Linked DNA regions of Homo sapiens: all the other regions are linked to region 3. The links are contacts of gene promoters, found by promoter capture Hi-C in blood cells and fetal thymus (Javierre and others, 2016). All regions are on one chromosome and are shown on one strand. Each heading gives the region's core, a stretch centred on a gene start or on the middle of the fragment in contact. The rest is flanking DNA. Distances are from core to core; before and after follow the strand shown.

Region 1 (2,700 bases), core at 185-2,684, 390 kb after region 3:
GCAGTGGCACAATCTCAGCTCACTGCAAAGTTCGCCTTCCAGGTTCAAGTGATTCTCGTGTCTCAGCCTCCCAAGTAGCTGGGATTACAGGTGCCTGCCACCATGCCCGGCTAATTTTTGTATTTTTAGTAGAGACGGGTTTTCACCATGTTGGCCAAGCTGGTCTCGAACTCCTGACCTCAAGTGATCCGCTCGCCTCGGCCTCCTGAAGTGCTGGGATTACAGGTGTGACTCACCATGCCTGGCCCTGAACCTCCCCCTTTTTTACTGACTGACTTCTTTTTCTCATTTAAACTTAGTTAACCCTGTCCCACCTTTTCTATTTGTTTGTTTTAAGAACCAACTCTATTTGACTCCACATTTCCCTCTGGTTATGTCACAGATCTACTTCATAAAAGAATGGTTTCCACTGCCTGACTTACTCATCTGCTTACTGAAATCTGGGTTTCCACTGAAATCTCCTAAGTTACTAACAACTTCCTTGTTACTAAATTCAATAGCAAATTTCAGTCCTTGCTCTACTGACCTCTCTTTAGCAGCTGACACATTTGACCACTTCTTTCCTTGGCCTCTGTGACTCGATGATCCTACGATTCTCCTCATTCCTCTTGGCCTCACCTCTGTTTCCTTTTCTGGCTCCTCCCTTCTGTCTTTCTCTGACTTGTTAGTGTTTCCCCATGGTTCTACCAAAAGATAAGAGATCCCTTCTCTTTTCATTCTACTTTCCCTGGATCTGATCTCCTCCCATGGCTACAATTACCATCCCCAGGTGGATGACTAGTGATGGTTCCAGGCCAAGTCTTTGCATCTAGTAGGCATATTTGTTTGAATATCTTTGGAAGTATCATGATCGTAACATTTCTAAACTGAAAGCTCCCCAAATCGCCTCCCTTTCTGTGCTCCTGGAACAGTGAAGGGCCCCAAGTTGCCCATGCCAGAACCTTGATTCCTTTTCTCTGATACCTCATTCCAATTAATCACTAAGTCCTGCTGATTCAACTTCACATCTCTTACTCCTGTCTACCTCTCATCATCCTCAGGGTTACCACCCTGGTTCAGGCACACTACCTCTCACCAAGGTTATCCTTCCTGGTCTCCTAACCGGTCTTTCCACTTCCAGCCTTGCCTCACCCCAATCCATCCTACATTCTGCAGTGATGTCTCAAAAACGCAAATGTGATCATGTCATTTGCCTCTTCAACAGCTTCTGATGGTTCCCCTTTGTTTTGTCACATGAGTGGTCTGACCCTCATCTGCCTCTTCCTGCTCCCCACCGCATTTCCACTGATCTAAACTTTTTTCAGTTCCCTAAGCATACCATGTGCTGTTTCATCTGTGGGCCTTTAACTATACTGTTTACTTTGCCAAGAACACCATAATTTACTTCCTGGTGAATAGAGACAGGAAGTAAATTATATTCATAATCTCTCTTACCGTAACTTACTGCTTCTTAGACATTACTTACTGCTTCTTAGAAATTACTTCCTGCATAAGTGCCGCTGACCCAGCCCCCTCCACCTCCTGCAATGTTTGTTTAACTTGTCTGTCTCCCTGATAAACACTAACCTCCATAAGGACTGGGACCTTGTCTATTCTCTTCACCCCTGTATCCCCATTGATTTAAATCAATAACTCCATCCTCATTCTACCCCCTGCAGCCCCTGGCAATCAATCACCAATTTACTGTCTCTATGGAATTCAACCTCCCTCAGCAAGTTGCCAGTGGGAAATACTGAGCCTAGACCTACTATTAACTTTTAAAATAAGAATATTGAGTTAGTAATTAAGTGCCAATTATTAAACTTTTTTGTGCCTTATTTCCTTAACTTTGAAAGGATGCCTACTCATTCAAGGGCCCAAGCCAGATGACCTGCAGGGGTTTTTTTTGGTTTTGTTTTTTTTCTTTTTTGAGATTGTGTTTCGCTCTTGTTGCCCAGAGTGCAATGGTGTGATCTCGGCTCACCGCAAACTCTGCCTCCTGGGTTCAAATGATTCTCCTGCCTCAGCCTCCAGAGTAGCTGGAATTACAGGCACATGCCACCACGCTCGGCTGATTTTGTATTTTTAGTAGAGACAGGGTTTTTCCATGTTGGTCAGGCTGGTCTCGAACTCCTAACCTCAGATGATCCACCTGCCTCGGCCTCCCAAAGTGCTGGGATTACAGGCATGAGCCGCCGAACCCAGCCTGACCTGTAGTTTTAATTGCTTGACAGTCATATAAAACTTTGCCTTATTCAGCTTCTCATTTATGGTTCTGGTCAATTCATAGAATTTCCACTTACAGGAATGTCAGTTTCTGTGGCAGGAAGCAAAACCTCTCAGTATGCTCTGAGGAACCTTCCATGACTGCCATGACCAGTTCCTCAAGTCCCTGCCTTCCAGCCTACACTCTTCCCTATTCTCTAAATATGAGTTTCTTCCACTCTGATTTCAAGGAACTTGGATTATGGCAAGTCAACTTTTGAGACAGGGTCTCACTCTGTCACTCAGTCTGGAGTGCAGTGGCACAATCTTGGCTCACTGCGATCTCCAGTTCCAGGACTCAAGCCAGCCTTCCACTTCAGCCTCCTGAATAGCTGGGACCACAGGCACGCACCACCGGACCCAGCTAATTTTTCTGTATTTGTAGAAATGGGGTTTCACCATATCACCCAGGCTGGTCTTGAACTCCTGAGCTCAAGTGATCCTCCCGCCTCGGCC
Region 2 (2,700 bases), core at 155-2,654, 460 kb after region 3:
TAGAACATAAAAGGGGATAAAGAATAGGAGAGGGAAATAACCAATATTGAGCCCTTGCTATATAATAGACAGCACGCTAAGCTTAACTACTTTATCTCAGTCTTCACCACAGTTATATGAGGTAGCCATCCCATTTTATGAAGAAGGAAATGGAGGCTCAGGGAGATTAAAATGCACAGCTAGTAAACAGTGAAGCTGGGAGTCAACTTGAATTTTTCTGCCTCTGAAGTCTATTTCTCCCCTACTATATATCCTGCAGTTCAGAATGAGAATTTAATTTTAAATTTCAACATCATTTCAGGTGAAGGAGAAAACATTCTATTAATAGGATTCCTGTATTAACTTTGGGTAGATATCAGAGAAGAATAGCCTTCTTTTCTAACTACATCAAAATGAATTTTTGTGAGGTTGAGGATTTTAAAATGTACAATAAATAGATACAATCACATACTACATTAAGATTTTTCATTAATATTTTACATTAAATTTTCTGTGTTTTTTCCCCAGATATTGAAATACTTCATGAGAAATTTATTAACATTGAATCAAAGGATCACAGGTTACAGAAAGTTAAAGTGATTTTGCTGCTACCTCGTTGTTCAGGACTGGGTGTTAGTAATCCAGTAGAATTTATTTTAAATGAACATGAAGGTACTTGTTTTAATTTCTAAATTATTGAAATTAGTTGACAGTTTAAAATATAAAATTATTTAAAATCATTAAAATAGCATATCAAATACATCTGATTAATAAATAATAGCAACCACATATAAAGTACTTACTATGTATAAAGTCCTTTACCTCTGTTACCTCATTTAATCCTTACACCAATCCAATAGACCAGGGTGATATTCAAAATATTTAATAATTGGAATAATGTAGGCAATCAGAAAAGATGCTGGCCAGTATGCTATTCTGAATATACCAGAGCTCTTGATGTAAGTGTTAAAATTTACCGGCATTCTATAGATGAAAATACTGAGACTCAAAGATTGATTCATTTTTCTCAGGTCAAGCAACTAGAGACAGAGCTAAGATTCAAATTTAGATCTGTTTGACTCTAGAGCCTATGTTCTAAACATGATTCTAATTAAATCATTATCAGATTATTTCAAACTCAAAGGTGTCTTAATCGCTAGGATGTATGCTTTATGAAATGAATGTCTCAGACTAAATATAGAAGCATTGACATTTAATTTTATTGGCTTTTAAATACATTTAAAATAATAATTATTTAACATTAACATTTATTGAGCACTTAGATGTAAGGCCCTGGGCGTGGCACTTTTCTTGGATTATTTCAGTAAGTCTTCACAAGAATTCTGTGAAGTAGTAACTTGTTAACTTCTATTTTACAAATGAGGAATCTGAGGCTCAGAGAAGTTAATGAAGTCTCCTAGGATCATTGGGCTAGTAAGAGGCAGAGCTTGGATTCAAATACAACCAGTCTGACTCTGAGACTGGCACTTTTAATGACTCTCTTAATCACATTATATTGCTCCAAATTAAATGAAACTTATGCTTATCCCTTGCTTATATTGAAAGGCATATTAAATTGAAAGGTTAATTAGAATATTAGAAAAAGAAGACACCCCACAAATGTACAGAATATAGTAACTGTTTTCTGTTTCTAGCAAGGACAGAAGAGGAAAAGAAATGGAGGGAAAAGAGCTAATATTTATTAAACACAATAATGTCCCAGGCAATATTCTAGGTAGTGTTCACATACTGTCACTTAGTATTCACAATAACTTTTTGAGGTTAGTGTTCTTCTAATTGTAGAGGAAAAAAACCAAGACTCAGAAAAATTAAACCAGTTGCTTATGGTCATGTAGCTAGTAAGTAGGGAAGCTGGGATTCAAATTCAGGTGGGTTAGCACATTTTCCTTCCACTAAACGACACTATCTTTAACTGGGTTTACACTGTACCACATGGAATTTTGACTTGCTATAGAAAATTTCTTTCCAGAGAGACTTCAGCCAAAGAATAACCAATTCAGATGGTAGAATGGTAGGTAGGCTGAGAAAATTTCTAGATGAACTTTAAGAAATAATCAAAGAACAATTAGTAGACACTGAAAGAAAAGGGGGAAGGAAAAAAGGGGGAAGAAATAGCAGCTATAATAAGCATAGCAGTCAGGAGAACTAGAGCTCAGAACTGTGAGACTCTGGCCTTATCCTGGGCCATTTTGAGGTGGAAATCCAGAAAAAAAATAAACCACAGAATAAAAATAAACTAAAGGCTAGAGGAGAAAGGCCCAGAGGAAAATACAAATAAGGAAAGTGGGGAAAGGAAAACATTTCCTAGGTACTGGTAATGTTTTGAAAGCCTTGATGAGGAGATGATAGGATAAGCTAAGAAGTTGTCGTATACTGGCCGGGAGCGGTGGCTCACGCCTGTAATCCCAGCACTTTGGGAGGCCGAGGAGGGCGGATCACGAGGTCAGGAGCTCGAGACCATCCTGGCTAACACGGTGAAACCCCGTCTCTACTAAAAATACAAAAAATTAGCCGGGCGAGGTGGCGGGCGCCTGTAGTCCCAGCTACTCGGGAGGCTGAGGCAGGAGAATGGCTTGAACCCCGGGGGGCGGAGCCTGCAGTGAGCCGAGATCGCGCCACTGCACTCCAGCCTGGGCGACAGCAAGACTCCATCTCATTTAAAAAAAAAAAAGTTGTCGTATCCTGAAGTAAGCGGGCTTT
Region 3 (2,815 bases), core at 256-2,755:
TAGTGTTGCAGGGAGCACAGTGGATTGGGGCAGGTGGCCTGGATCCTGTCTCTGGCCGATCACTGCTGGAGGGAAGCCACTCTGCATCCCTGGGCCTCAGTTTCCTCATATAGAAGTGAGGCATTAAACTCAATTTCAAAATTACCTTCTGCCTCTGAGATTCTGGAGCGGATGGTTTGCTGAAGGAGGACTGAGCGTGGGCACCCGGAATTGTGTCATTTGATGAATGAGTCAGACTAGGGGCGTCAGAAAAATAATGTCTTCACAATCAACACAATGGGATAGGCAATTAAGAAACACTTTGCCGATGGCTTGAGTGTCTGTTCCACTCAGAGGATACATTCCCGAAGAGGGATGGGGTGACTCATCAGGCGGCTGTAACCTGATGAAACAGAGCTATCCAATTTCCTCGCTCCAATTCCAGGCAACCAAATTATCTTAATATGGTTTTCCAAAGCAGTTTCCCCAGGCAAGAGGAGAGACAGACATGAGTTTCCAGACTAAGCAGCAATTGAAAATTGACATTTTTTTATAGGAGTAAAATTATATCACATATGAGAAATGACTGAAACTTTATATGAAGTAGCATTCAAATGCAAAGGGTGTCATCATTAGCAATATCACCATTGGTTATTATTCTCATGCTGATTTGGTCAGCCTTTGAACCAGTTTTTCTTTTTTTTTTTCGAGCTGGTAAATCCTGGGTGACTTGGTGAGTATAGAAATTCTGGGTATGCAAAGCTGATCAAAGATGATAATTACTGATATTTAGAAAGTGCTTTCACATACAGTTATCTCAGTAGCTCTAGAGAGAGAAAATATTATTTTCCCCAGTCTGTAGTTCTGGAAGGCTCAGAGAGGTTAGGTGACTTTTACAGAATAATAGAGCTCGTCAGGGTTTGGCTGGCAGTCAAACCCAGGTGGTCAAGTCCAAATCCAACTCACAGTGTTGCTGCTTCTTAAGCGAGTGATTATCCGCCCATCCAGCACACCCCCTCACATATATACTCACAAACATTTACTATGCAAGATCCATGCCCAGTGGGACAGCTGCAGGAGGGATCAGAAGCTGAGGCAGAGAAAAAACCAAAATGCCAATATATTCTGGAGATCATAGAACCGTGTCTCTTTCCCTCTTCAAATGCTGCTAAAAGCACGTAGAGTCTTTCTGGACAGCCGTCCCATGGCTCAGTCTTTTAGGCTTCCCTTAGTCCCTGGACTCAGGCTGACTCTGCTCATGGTGGGTGTAGAAATCTCCCATTCTGCTTAGATGGAGTCTCTGGGGTGTCAGGCATACCCCTGTTGCCTGCATCTACCTCCTTTTCTGTCTGGTTGTTTCTGCTGAGGGTGGCTAGGGACCCTCAACTGAGATGGCCCCCCACAACAGCACTGTTGGACCTAACACACCCTGGGTTCCCGGCTTCTCAGCCACTGGAGCTGCCAGTCTCAAATTACCGGAGGGGAGGGAGGGCAGGCCTGGATCTCAGGATCTCGGTCCTGCATGCAATGCAAGCCTGAGCTCTCCCGCCATAAGGCTGCAGCGGTGTGGGCTCCTTGTGCCCAGATCCTTTGTATTCATAGGGGGAAGTGGAAGACCACGCTGCCTGACTGAGACTTTATTATAGAGGCTCAGGAAAAAGATGAACTGGTCCCATTCCTGCATCTCCTTTTGCTGGATCTACTTTGCTGCTTCCAGACTGAGAGGTGAGAGGCTGGTGACACGTAACCTATCTTGTCTCATCTGGGGCTATTGCTTTGGTGGGAGGTGGGGCAGGACAGGGAAGACAAAACAGATGATTCAACCGCATGGAAGTGTTCTGTGCTTCCTACTGACTCTGATCTTGGTAGGGCATGCCAGAAAAACAACTCATCCATCCACCCAAAGCTTGTCCCTCGCCAGTGTTGGGCCATCCCCCATTTTAGACCTCAGTCTTGTGTTGTTTGTCTTGAAATACACACAACACTCTGAATGTTAATCCAGATCCCTCTTGTTGAGTAGCTGCAGAGACGGCAGATGGAAAATATGCTCAGAAGTTGTTTAATGACCTTTTTGAAGATTATTCTAATGCTCTTCGTCCAGTGGAAGATACAGATAAAGTCCTGAATGTGACCCTGCAGATTACGCTCTCTCAGATTAAGGATATGGTGAGTAACACATGGTGCTGACTCTGTGGAATGATTCTTAGAGGATAAACAACCATGCTTTCTGAAGAGAATGTCTTAACTGGGAATTTGAGAGGGAATGATAGCTCCTTAAGCAAGCTGGTGGGAGAAGAGAATGTCGGGAAAAGGAAGCTTTCTACAAAACTAATTAATTTCAAGAAACGTTACCTAATCCTGGTCATTAACTGTAACAGTCTTAGATAATCTAAAGAAAGATGGGGTTACATACTGTATGCAGCCATTTATATAAAATGTCCAAAAGAGGTAAATCCGTAGAGACAGAAAACGGCATAGAGGTTGCCGGGGTCTGTGGGGAGGACGGGGAAAACGGCCAGTGAGTTCTTAATGATTACGGCGTTTCTTTGCGGGGGGAAGAAATGATCTTGAATTAGGCAGTGGTGATGGTTGCACAACGTTGTGAATATATTGGAAGCCGGTGCATTGTTCCCTTCGAAAATGATTAAAATGGTGAGTTTTAATGTGAATTTGATCTTAATTTTTTTTTTGAGACGGAGTCTTGCTGTCACCCAGGCTGGAGTGCAGTGGCATGATCTCCGCTCACTGTAAGCTCTGCCTCCTGGGTTCACACCATTCTCCTGCCTCAGCCTCCTGAGTAGCTGAGACTACAGGCACCCGCCACCACACCCGGCTA
Region 4 (2,854 bases), core at 115-2,614, 350 kb before region 3:
AGCCTGGTGGGGTGGCGCACACCTGTAGTCCTAGCTACTTGGGAGGCTGAGGCATCAGAATTGCCTGACTCTGGGAAGCAGGGGTTGCAGTGAGCCGAAATTGCACCACTGCACTCCAGCCTGGGCGACAGAGAAAGACTCCGTCTAAAAAAAAAAAAAAGACCTGAGCACGGTGGCTCACGCCTGTACTCCCAGCACTTTGGGGGGCCGAGGCAGGCAGATAACCTCAGGTCAGGAGTTTGAGACCAGCCTGGCCAACCTGGTGAAACCCCATCTCTACTAAAAATACAAAAATTAGCTGAGCAGGGTAATGGGCACCTGTGTAATCCCAGCTATTCAGGAGGCTGAGACAGGAGAATCACTTGAACCTGGGAGGCAGAGCTTGCAGTGAGCTGAGATCGTGCCATTGCACTCCAGCCTTGGTGACACAGTGAGACTCAGTCTCAAAAAAAAGAAAAAAAAAAAAAAAAGAAGAAGAAAGTAAGAAATTCTAGAGCAAAAATCTAGGGCAGTTCTGTCCAATAGAAATTTCTGCAGCAATAGAAATGTTCCACACATACATTGTCCAGAATAGTAGCCACCAGCCATACGTGACTGTGCAGCACTTGGAAAGTGGCTAGTGCCACGAGAGAAGTGAATTTTTAATTTAATTTATTTTGATTACTTTCTTTTGTTGTTGTTGTTATGAGACAGTCTTGCTCTGTTGCCCAGGCTGGAGTGCAGTGGCACAATCTCGGCTAACTACAACTTCCGCCTCCTAGGTTCAAGTGATTCTCCTGCCTTAGCCTCCTGAGAAGCTGGGATTACAGGTGCCCGCCACCACCCGGCATATTTTTGTATTTTTAGTAGAGATAGGGTTTCCCATGTTGGCCAGGATGGTCTTGAACTCCTGACCTCAAGTGATCTGCCCACCTGGGCCTCCCAAAGTGCTGGGATTACAGGCATGAGCCACCAAGCCTGACCCTAAATATTTTCAAGTATGAAAAAAACTGCAGGTATAAGTGACATGGATAAATCTTAGTGACATAAAGTTCAACAGCAAGGTTCAGGATAATGGTTACCCTTAGAGTACAAGGAGAAGCAGGGAACACAGTGAGACAACACGGGAGAATGAATATATTGGTAGATGTATTCTGTTGAAGCTTTATTCTTGGGTGAGATGGTGACTTCACATATGCTAGCTATGCTAAAGAATGAATGGTTGAATGACTAAAGGCAACCCATGGACTAATGAGAGATGTGTTCATAACCCAAGAATTATAATTAATCTAGTCAGAGCACATGAGGTCCAGAAGAGAAAAAAATAAAACCAAACTCAACAAATTTCCAAACATTTTAATATTGTAATTTAATATTTTTTCAATTATATCCCCTGAAGTCAAAGAAATTATACCCTCATGATAATTATAATTTTTGTCTAGTAATGGTAGTACCATAAGAAATTATTTAGAGTTATATTTTGTACAAATGCCACTTTTTAACCCTTTCTCAAGTTGCTAGTATTAGGATGACAGATGATTATAGGACTGAAAGAGTTTTCAGAGTAAATAAAATTTCAACAATCACATTGCAGTGCATTTTTGTTATGAAGCTTGGGATGTTAGCCTCCTGTTGTCCTATATAACTTAAAATAGGCTGGGCATGGTGGCTCACGCCTGTAATTCCAGCACTTTGGGAAGCCAAGGTGGGCAAATCACTTGAGGCCAAAAGTTCGAGACCAGGCTGGCCAACATGTCGAAACCCCATCACTACTGAAAGTACAAAAATTAGCTTGTGGTGGTAGCACACACCTGTAATCCCAGCTACTCGCGAGGCTGAGGCAGTAGAATGGCTTGAACCCAGTAGGCAGAGGTTGCAGTGAGCCAAGATCATGCCACTGCACTCCAGCCTGGGCAACATCAATGAAGCTCCATCTCAAAAAAAAAAATTTTTTTTGAGACGGAGTCTCGCTCTGTCGCCCAGGCTGGAGTGCGGTGGCGCGATTTCGGCTCACTGCAACCTCCGCCTCCCGGGTTCACGCCATTCTCCTGCCTCAGCCTCCCGAGTAGCTAGGACTACAGGCGCCCGTCACCACGCCTGGCTAATTTTTGGTATTTTTAGTAGAGTCAGGATTTCACCGTGCTAGCCAGGATGGTCTCGATCTCCTGACCTCGTGATCCGCCCCCTTGGCCTCCCAAAGTTCTGGGATTACAGGCGTGAGCCACCATGCCCGGCCACAAAAAAAAATTTTTTTTTAAACTTAAAATAATTGGCCAAGTGAGGTGGCTAATGCCCATAATCCCAGCATTTTCGAAGGCCAAGGCAGGAGGATCACTTTAGCCCAGGAGTTCAAAATCAGCCTGAGCAAGATAGTGAGACTTTGTCTCTACTAAGAATAAAAAATTAGGCCAGGCGCAATGACTCACGCCTGTAATTCAAGCACTTTGGGAGGCTGAGGTGGGTGGATCACTTGAGGTCAGGAGTTCGAGACCAGCCTGGCCAACATAGCGAAACCCCCTCTCCACTAAAAATACAAAAAATTAGCTGGGCATGGTAGCGGGCACCTGTAATCCCAGCTACTTGGGAGGCTGAGGCAGGAGAATTGCTTGAACCCAGGAGGCAGAGGTTGCAGTGAGCTGAGATCAGGCCATTGGACTCCAGCCTGGGCAACAGAGCAAGACTCTGTTACACAGACACACAAAATTGTTTTCTTCATGTAAAATCTCTTTTATCTGAGCTAATTTGCAGTAAGCCAAGATCGTGCCACTGCATTCCAGCCTGGGTGACAGAGTGAGACTCCTTCTCAAAAAAAAAAAAAGGCCGGGTGCGGTGGTTCACACCTGTAATCTCAACACTTTGGGAGGCCAAGGCTGGT
Region 5 (2,783 bases), core at 24-2,523, 410 kb after region 3:
GTTTAACGTATTCCGGGGATAATGAAAGTGGGTGGATTTCTGAGAGAAGGGGTCAGGGTTAGAGTTCTGTACTGCTAATTTTTTCCCCATTATCCATTCTCTCCTTCTTCTACAGTAATAGTTCCCTTATTTTTAGCTGGACACATTTACCAGCCTCTTGGTTGCTGGGTATATGACTGAGTTCTGACCAATAAAATGTGAGCCAAAGTGATATGTGCACCTTTCAGGTCATTGAAAAATATGGGCTGCCCTCTCTTTCCCCTTCATCCTACTAACCACTGGCTGGAAATGGAAATGGCCTTAGCCTAAAGAAGGAAGGGCAAATCCCTAAGGAGGAAAGGCAGAGGTGGAATTAGGACCAGTTGTCTTTCAACTATACCAGAGTTTTTCAAACTGTGGTCTTTGGGCTGATTGCATCAGAATCGCCAGTTACCTGATAAAAATGCAAATTACTGGGTCTTAGCAACTCAAATCTCTAGGATGGGTTCCAAGGATTTTTTTTTAGCTGGAGGCGGTGGTTCACGCCTGAAATCCCAGCACTTTGGGAGGCCGAGGAGGGAGGACTCCTTGAGCCCAGGAATTCGAGACCACCCTGGGCAACATAATGGGAACCCTGTCTCTGTTATTAAAAAAAATTATTACAGACGGCGCAGTGGCTCACGCATGTAATCCCAGCACGTTGGGAGGCCAAGGCCGGCAGATCACTTGACGTCAGGAGTTCGAGACTAACTTGATCAACACGGTGAAACCCTGTCTCTACTAAAAATACAAAAATTAGCAGGGTGTGGTGGCGGGCGCCTGTAGTCCCAGCTACTCGGGAGGCTGAGGCATGAGAATCACGTGAACCCGGGAGGAGGAGGCTGCAGTGAACCGAGATTGCGCCACTGCACTCCAGCCTGGGCGACAGAGCGAGACCATGTCTCAAAAAAAAAATTATTACTATATTTTAAAAATATTTTAAAGAATGTGTAGTTTTAACAGGGACTTCAGGAACTTGTGAGTTAAAACCACGGAACTACGTCAGACTACCTCAAAAATATCCCCAAATGTTTATAAACAAAGCCAAGGGCACGCACTCAGGCCCGGTGAGGTCCAGGAACTGTGCAAGAGGCCTCTGGCTCGGAGGGGCTGAAACAGGTGTCTCCGCGCGCTGGGGGAAGAGCGACTCTCCCGGCAACAGGTAGCACCCGCCAAATCCCGCGGGAACGGCCCTCGCGCCGCGCCCCCTGCCCCACCTCCGCTCGCGGTTGCCATGAAGACCCGGTCCGGGAGCAGTCGACTGCCGGAGACTCGGGAGGCTGAGCTTTCCTCGGCCTGAGCCAGCCAGACCCCGGGCACCGCGCTCACCCCTCTTCGCCGCCACGTCCGCGAAGGCCTCACGCGCGAGGCCAGGCGAGGCCCCGAGGCGCCCACCACTTCACGACACCGGAGCGAACCGGGCGCCAGAGGCTGCGACCCCCCTGCCCCGAATCCTGCCGGTGGGAGTGGCTGCATTTGAACCAAACGGCCTTCGCGGGCAGCAGCCGTCGCCCCGCAGTCCCGGGGCTCCCAAGGGCCTGTGACCGACGCCGCCCTCCGCGTCTTCGTCCCCGAAGCCCCGGGAACCATCCGCCCTCGGGGTAAGGGAGGAGTCGGGGGAGCCGGTGACTGGGCTGTGGGGACGCGGACGGGGCTCCGGGGGCAGCTCTGCCCCCAGACTGGCTTGAGGGAAGCCGTCGGTCTCCTTGGGGCTCTTCTCCCTCCGCCGCTGCACCCCTCCTCGCTTTTTTTTTTTTTTTTGAGCGTCCCAGGCTCGAAGTCTGGGACACTCAGATGGGACGGGAAATGCTCCCTCTTAGTCTTTAAGGCCACAACGAAGGGGGCCACCCACAGGGGTGCTGCAGAAAGAGTGATTTACTGCAATCACCTTCTCTCTTCACAGAGACCATGCTGCAGATGCGAGGAAAGCCGTTTCCTGGAACATCGGAATTCTAACCCCAGGGTGAAGGACTCACGACAGGCGAGGGGCAGACATGCTGAATTCCACGGGCGAACTGGAGTTTTCGAACGAAGAAGATCCCGAGATCATCTCCCAACTCACTTCCCTGCCTCTGTCCGGTGGGAAAAGCTCAGCTGGTGTGCCCGAAAAAACGGGCTATCCGGACTCCGTTTATGTCATGGCAGCCAACATTTTTCAGGGTATTCGAATCGAAAAGTCGGCACAGAAAGTCTTAATCAAGTATGGGAATGAACCCCTGCGGTCCTTGTCCGAGTCTGAGGATCAGTCCTTTCAGCGTTTGTCTTATGAGCTGGCTTTCAGTGCCCTGAAATGTGAGTTGTGCCAGTCTGGAAGATCAACACTAAAAGAAAATAATAGCGAGAGAATTTGGGGAATGCAGCCCTCCTCCTCCCTTCCCCTCATTCACACCAGGTTTTGGTTTTAGGCATGTGCATATCTTTGGTTAATTGCAAGTGTCAAGGAATTAGGGTTCCCATGAAACTAGCTCTTCCAGCCCAGGATTGCAGATTTCCCCGTGCACTGTGTTTGTCCTTAGATCGGTGTAGTGCGCGGTCATTACATTCAACAAGGAAACAATTTATTCCAATGATCATTTCCCTCTCCCTGTATTTTTTTTTCCCTCGTAGACTTAGGGGTCTCGCTTTATTGTCTGGGCTGGTCTCAAACTCTGGACCTCAAGGAATCCTCCCTCTTCAGCTTCCCAAAGTGCTGGGATTACAGGCAGTGAGCCACCACGCCTGGCCTCCCTGTGTATTTCTTTCCATTCCCTGTGTTTACCTTTTTT
Region 6 (2,700 bases), core at 84-2,583, 430 kb after region 3:
TCTCGGCTCACTGCAACCTCCACCTCCTGAGCTCAAGCAGTTCTCCTGCCTCAGCCTCCCAAGTAGCTGGGATTACAGGTGTGCGCCATTATGCCTGTGTTTTTGTAGAGATGGGGTTTCAGCATGTTGGCCAGGCTGGTCTCAAACTCCTGACCGCAGGTGATCCTCCCGCCTCGGCCTCCTAGAATGCTGGGATTACAAGTGTGAGCTGCCGTGCTCGGCCAGATAAAGACTAACTCTAAGAGGTTATAGAAGAAGAAGTAATTAGCAAGAAGCTGAATGAGAATGATTTCCTCCTTGTAAAAGTGGTTTGACCTTTGTTGTTGTTCCTCCTGGGAATCCTTGTGTTTTTTCACTCTTATACCCCTAAGCACCAACATGTATCTTTTTCTTCACTTATTCGTGGGTTTAGACATGTAATCCAAGATGATACCTATTATCATTTTTTTTACATATGAAAGGTCTTTAAGAACCCATTCTTTGTATAAAATGTAACTGTCTTTTTAATACTGTGTGACCAGGTTAAAAAAAGAGAGACCACAACCCCTTGTTTCTCACTCCCCATGCCTTTCCACCAGCCCAATAATCTATTTCTATTAAATTATTTGTTGGACTGTTGTGAGGCAGCAATTGGAAAATAAGCAGTGAAAAAGTAGAGAAAGGAGGGGAAAGACTTAGTCAGTTCTTCTTCCAAACCACCCCAAAACCATTTATTCTGATGTCTTCCACTTCACAGCTAAGGCATCACCATCTACCTAGACATCATCCTTGATTCTTCTTTCCTCCCCTCCCCTGCACTCAATCTGTGTCTAATGCATCAAGTCCTGTAACTCCAATTCAAAAACATACACTGAGCCTGTGTGCTTCTTTCCATTTCCACTACTACCATCCAAATCTATGCCACCATAATCTATCACTTGGACTACCATGATAGCTTCCTTAGATACATTTCCCTGGCCTATAACTCTCACTTTCCTGCAATCTATTCCACATGGCAGGTAGAGTGATATTTTCAAAATGTAATTGTATGGTCATGATAGAATATCTTGGATCAGTCTTCCCCTTCTACTGTAAACAACTAGAAAACTGGCCAAAATATATCATAGGACGTAAAGGTTTTGGACATTAGACAAGAAGCAGCACAGAAACCTGATCCCTGAAAGAACAAAACAAATGAGGTGAGCCCTAGAATAGTCCTGGCTTTATGCCTGGAAGAATTCTCAAACTGCAATGCAGAAAGTAGAAAACAGCAGTCTTGCTGAGTTAAGAAAACAGAGAACAGTTTTAGAAGACTGAAGTGATTGTTTTTCTTCTTTATTGTATTAAGTGGCCAGGTGATTTACATTGACTGGTTTATGAATGTTAAACCAGCCATGCATTTTTGGGATAAGGCACATTTGCTCAGATATATTCTTTTTCTTATCTTCCCCAGTTTCTCTCATTCCCCATAATGCTCCAGAATTTCTAATTGCCAAAATGCCCTTTAAATACTTGTTCATGGGTTTTATCTCTCACATTCTCTCCGCTCCTTCTTCAGAAACTCTTCACCTGTTTCACTTACCTAGTAAAGAGTCTGAAGCAGATGACTGATTTTACATTTTTCTGGGAAATTCAAGCAGTTCATTGAAGATTATCTTTTGGCATTAAGAAAATGCAATCAAGGTCAGGCGTGGTGGCTCACGCCTGTAATCCCAGCACTTTGGGAGGCCGAGGCGGGTGGATCTCCTGAGGTCGGGAGTTCGAGACCAGCCTGGACCAACATGGAGAAGCCCCATCTCTACTAAAAATACAAAATTAGTCAGGCGTGGTGGTGCATGCCTGTAATCCTACCTACTTGGGAGGATGAGGCAGGAGAATCACTTGAACCCGGGAGGCGGAGGTTGCAGTGAGCCAAGATCATGCCACTGCACTGCAGCCTAGATAACAAGAGGGAAACTCCATCTCAAAAAAAAAAAAAAAAAAAGAAATTGCAATCAAGTGTCACTTAATGATGGGGATACATTCTGAGAAATGTGTCGTTAGGTGATTTCTTCTGATGGGAACATCGTAGAACATACTTACACAAATCTAGATGGTATAACCTACTGCACACCTATCCTATATGGTATAACCTAGTGCTCCTAGGCTACAAACCTGCACAGCATGTTATGTACTGAATACTGTAGGCAATTATAACACTATGGCAAGTATTTGTGTATCTAAACCTATTTAAATATAGCAAAGGTACTACCGTAGTAAACTTTTATGGGACCACCATCATAAACAGAGTTCATCATTGACCTAAATGTCATTATGCAGCAGATGACTTTATTCAATTTATATTTAAAGAGAACCACAGTTCTGATATGTTAGACATTAGTAATGCCATTCAAAAACTTGAGTCAAAAACTACATAAATATTTCTGAAAATTTAAAAAATGTAAATGTATATTACAAAAAGCCAAAAGAAGTAGTAAAAAGCCAAAAAAGAGTAATATCAATTTCATTTAAAAATAAACTGAGGTGGCTGGGCACGGTGGCTCACACCTGTAATCCCAGCACTTTGGGAGGCCAAGGTGGGCGGATCGTGAGGTCAAGAGATCGAGACCATCTTGGCCAACATAGTGAAACCCCATCTCTACTAAAAATACAAAAATTAGCCAGGTGTGGTGGTGTGCACCTGTAGTCCCAGCTACTTGGGAGGCTGAGGCAGGAGAATCT
Region 7 (2,700 bases), core at 186-2,685, 510 kb after region 3:
CTACTTCTCATGCTGCGCACAACTGTCCACTTTTCACAAACTGAGCACGCGAGGCAAGGACTTGCCAGTAGACTTCTCACTCCATTTTTGCAGAAGTCTCTGTTGCATGCTTCTTTTTGATGTTTGTCTTTCATCACTGGCCATCTCTCTAGCCTTTTGAGCACACATCACACCATTATCCACAGGACAATGAAGTAAACACTGCAAAACTTTACATCATGAAAATTCTTGCACCAGCTCCTGAGTCTGACAGTTTATTTTTTCCCTCCAGCTTCAGGGGTGGGTAGGTGGGTGTGGGTGGGTGGGTGGGTGGGTGTGAGTGGGGTGTGTGTGTGTGTGTGTGTGTGTGTGTGTGTCATTTATCAGCTGTCTGCCCTTGGTCAGGGCCCTTAGCCTCTTTGTTTTTCAGTTTCTTCATCTGTGAAATGGGAATCATAGAGGCCTTCAGGTCCTGAGAGTGCCATAAAATTCCATTATTTAATCCATATAAAGCTCCTACAGGATGGCGGCTTGAGTATGGCCTTACAGTGCAGGCCAGGCCAATCACTATGTGAGAGAGGGAAGGGGAGCTCCACGAGGAGAAAGGAAAGGTTCCTGACCTGTTTTGGATCAAGGCCCTCGGATGAAAACACTCCAAAAAAAAAAAAAAAAAAAAAAGTGCACAGACTCACAATTTTATACACAATTTTGGAAGGGGGCAGAGCTGGAACAGTTCAGTGATTCTTGAAACTCAATCCCAGGTCCCTTTAGAATCTACATGCCGCAGGTGAAAGGCCTCTGAACTGAAATGAATACTGAATTTATGCAAATTTACCATCTGATTTCTGGCTGATATTTAGAGAATTCATCTCAGGGAAAGGTTCTATCCTTCCCAGGATCAACCGGTGACATGAACAACCGTCTCTGACCAAGTGTGCCTTCCTTTCCAAAGCAAGCTCCCCTCCCACCTCACTGTCCTGCCCAGCAGCGCCATGATGGGAAAGTTAGACTTCCAGCACTTAGAAGTGTAAAGCCAGGAGTTAAAGTGGTTGAGGTTATTGAAATTCAAGGCACATTATTCTAAACAAAGGACTTTCTCATGCCATTGGAGGGAAGACACAATAGTTACCAGCCTGCTTACTAATGAGGAGGAGGGAAAAAGGATATTTAAAAGCAACCAGGAAACGAGTATTTTTAAAAGTCCATCTTTGAAGACTTTAAGCAAGAATTAACGAGCTTCAGCTTTCATCTGTGCTATATCACAGATTAAAAAAAAAACAAAAAACCAAATGCAAAAATCTTGCATCTCTGAATATCTGAGAGAAGAATACACACACAAATTATAGTTAGTTATTAAGTGAGAGATAATTTACACCATGTTCCAGTTTCAACTTTAAAGTTTAGGGTATAATGAAAGGATAACGTTATATAAATTCTACCTGAACTGTGAAACCATGGGTTAGCTTCCTTTCTGAAAGCCAAGATGGTAAAACAAAAATAAAAAATACCAGGTCAGGCATGGTGGCTCACACTTGTAATCCCAGCACTTTGGGAGGTTGAGGCAGGTGGATTACTTGAGGCCAGGAGTTCAAGACCAGCCTGCCAACATGACGAAACCCTGTCTCTACTAAAAATACAAAAATTAGCCAGGCATGGTGGCGCACACCTGTAGTCCCAGCTACTCAGGAGGCTGAGACGTGAGAATCACTGCAACCCGGGAGGTGGAGGTTGCAGTGAGCTGAGATCGTGCCTCTGCACTCCTGCCTGGGTGACAGAGCAAGACCGTCTCAAAAAAATAAAACAACACGAAACACCTTGACACCAGAAGGCTCCTATCTGACAAAGCACAGGAACGCATAAGGATTTAGAACTGATTCTGAGCAGGGAAAATGACAGCACAGTGGTTTCCATGCCAGAATGCCATGAGGGTACAAACTCCTGGCAAGGTGCAGACAAGCCTCCTACTTAAAACCACGGTGAGCACCCAGCCACATGGAGGACCTCTTGTGGATATGGTGAATCACTTTCTGAATTTTCAAGGGGCTTTCTTTGTGCCAGTTCAAAGGAGTACTAGGGTAGATAACATGGAAAGCCAATACATATGGCCTTCATTTGAATTGTTTGTTGTTTTTGCTTGCTTTTTTTTTTTTTTAAGAGATGGGATCTCGCTCTGTTGCCCAGGCAGGAGTCCAGTAGCACGATCATAGCTTACTGCATCCTCAAACTACTTGGCTCAAGCAATCCTCCGGCCTCAACCTCCCAAGTAGCGGGGGCTATAGGTGTTTGCCATCATACCCGGCTAATTTTTTATTTGTTGTAGAAATGAGGTCTCACTATGTTGCAAAGGTTGGTCTCAAACTTTTGGGCTCAAGCAATCCACCCACCTCAGCTTCTCAAAAAAGTATTTGGATTACAGGCATGAGCCACTATGCCCAGTCCTGAATTTTGTTAACTTCCATCTAGATACAAGTATTTCTGGTATAATGTAAACTCAATAATATCTAAAGAAAAGCAGACACCAACCCTAGGAAGGCTGATTACCACTAACCAAGTAACAGTAGCGGCTCCTGGCTATGATTGCTTCTGTCTAGCCAGGCTCTATTCTTGCTGCGCACTGTCGCCAAGCCACACAATAACCTTGCAGGGGGAAGCATCACGACTCATTTTACAAATGAGGAATTGAAGGGTCAGAGAGTTTAAGTTGACTTGCTCCAAAGCCCA

What was found. The method cuts DNA at HindIII sites, captures the fragments that hold promoters and counts their contacts. A CHiCAGO score of 5 or more calls a contact.
Region 1: a contact is called between a fragment that was not itself captured here and the fragment with the promoter of CHRNA9 in region 3, in 2 of 17 cell types (endothelial precursors and total B cells). The highest score is 5.9, in endothelial precursors.
Region 2: a contact is called between a fragment that was not itself captured here and the fragment with the promoter of CHRNA9 in region 3, in 1 of 17 cell types (neutrophils). The highest score is 5.0, in neutrophils.
Region 4: a contact is called between a fragment that was not itself captured here and the fragment with the promoter of CHRNA9 in region 3, in 2 of 17 cell types (naive CD8 T cells and non-activated CD4 T cells). The highest score is 6.2, in naive CD8 T cells.
Region 5: a contact is called between the fragment with the promoter of NSUN7 here and the fragment with the promoter of CHRNA9 in region 3, in 9 of 17 cell types (neutrophils, total B cells, activated CD4 T cells and 6 more). The highest score is 9.4, in neutrophils.
Region 6: a contact is called between a fragment that was not itself captured here and the fragment with the promoter of CHRNA9 in region 3, in 1 of 17 cell types (neutrophils). The highest score is 6.9, in neutrophils.
Region 7: a fragment that was not itself captured here is called in contact with the fragment with the promoter of CHRNA9 in region 3 in 1 of 17 cell types (neutrophils); the score reaches 7.9 in neutrophils.

The regions. Positions count from the first base shown.
Region 1 is chr4:40,721,557-40,724,256 of GRCh38, forward strand. No RefSeq gene overlaps it. Among named protein-coding and RNA genes, the nearest start is that of NSUN7, 27 kb to the right of the region's middle. The HindIII fragment of the contact is 5,794 bases long and covers 1-2,700 here.
Region 2 is chr4:40,790,095-40,792,794 of GRCh38, forward strand. NSUN7 (NOP2/Sun RNA methyltransferase family member 7) reads left to right here. Exons shown (of 12, transcript NM_024677.6): 8 at 508-651. Among named protein-coding and RNA genes, the nearest start is that of NSUN7, 41 kb to the left of the region's middle. The HindIII fragment of the contact is 2,650 bases long and covers 80-2,700 here.
Region 3 is chr4:40,333,828-40,336,642 of GRCh38, forward strand. CHRNA9 (cholinergic receptor nicotinic alpha 9 subunit) reads left to right here and starts at 1,506. Exons shown (of 5, transcript NM_017581.4): 1 at 1,506-1,704; 2 at 2,000-2,145. The coding sequence starts at 1,641. The HindIII fragment of the contact is 7,151 bases long and covers 1-1,883 here.
Region 4 is chr4:39,982,282-39,985,135 of GRCh38, forward strand. No RefSeq gene overlaps it. Among named protein-coding and RNA genes, the nearest start is that of PDS5A, 5.8 kb to the left of the region's middle. The HindIII fragment of the contact is 449 bases long and covers 1,141-1,589 here.
Region 5 is chr4:40,748,682-40,751,464 of GRCh38, forward strand. NSUN7 (NOP2/Sun RNA methyltransferase family member 7) reads left to right here and starts at 1,274. Exons shown (of 12, transcript NM_024677.6): 1 at 1,274-1,619; 2 at 1,922-2,310. The coding sequence starts at 2,013. The HindIII fragment of the contact is 13,723 bases long and covers 1-2,783 here.
Region 6 is chr4:40,768,267-40,770,966 of GRCh38, forward strand. The region is part of intron 4 of NSUN7 (NOP2/Sun RNA methyltransferase family member 7); the gene reads left to right. Among named protein-coding and RNA genes, the nearest start is that of NSUN7, 20 kb to the left of the region's middle. The HindIII fragment of the contact is 3,396 bases long and covers 1-2,700 here.
Region 7 is chr4:40,845,692-40,848,391 of GRCh38, forward strand. The region is part of intron 12 of APBB2 (amyloid beta precursor protein binding family B member 2); the gene reads right to left. Among named protein-coding and RNA genes, the nearest start is that of NSUN7, 97 kb to the left of the region's middle. The HindIII fragment of the contact is 8,965 bases long and covers 1-2,700 here.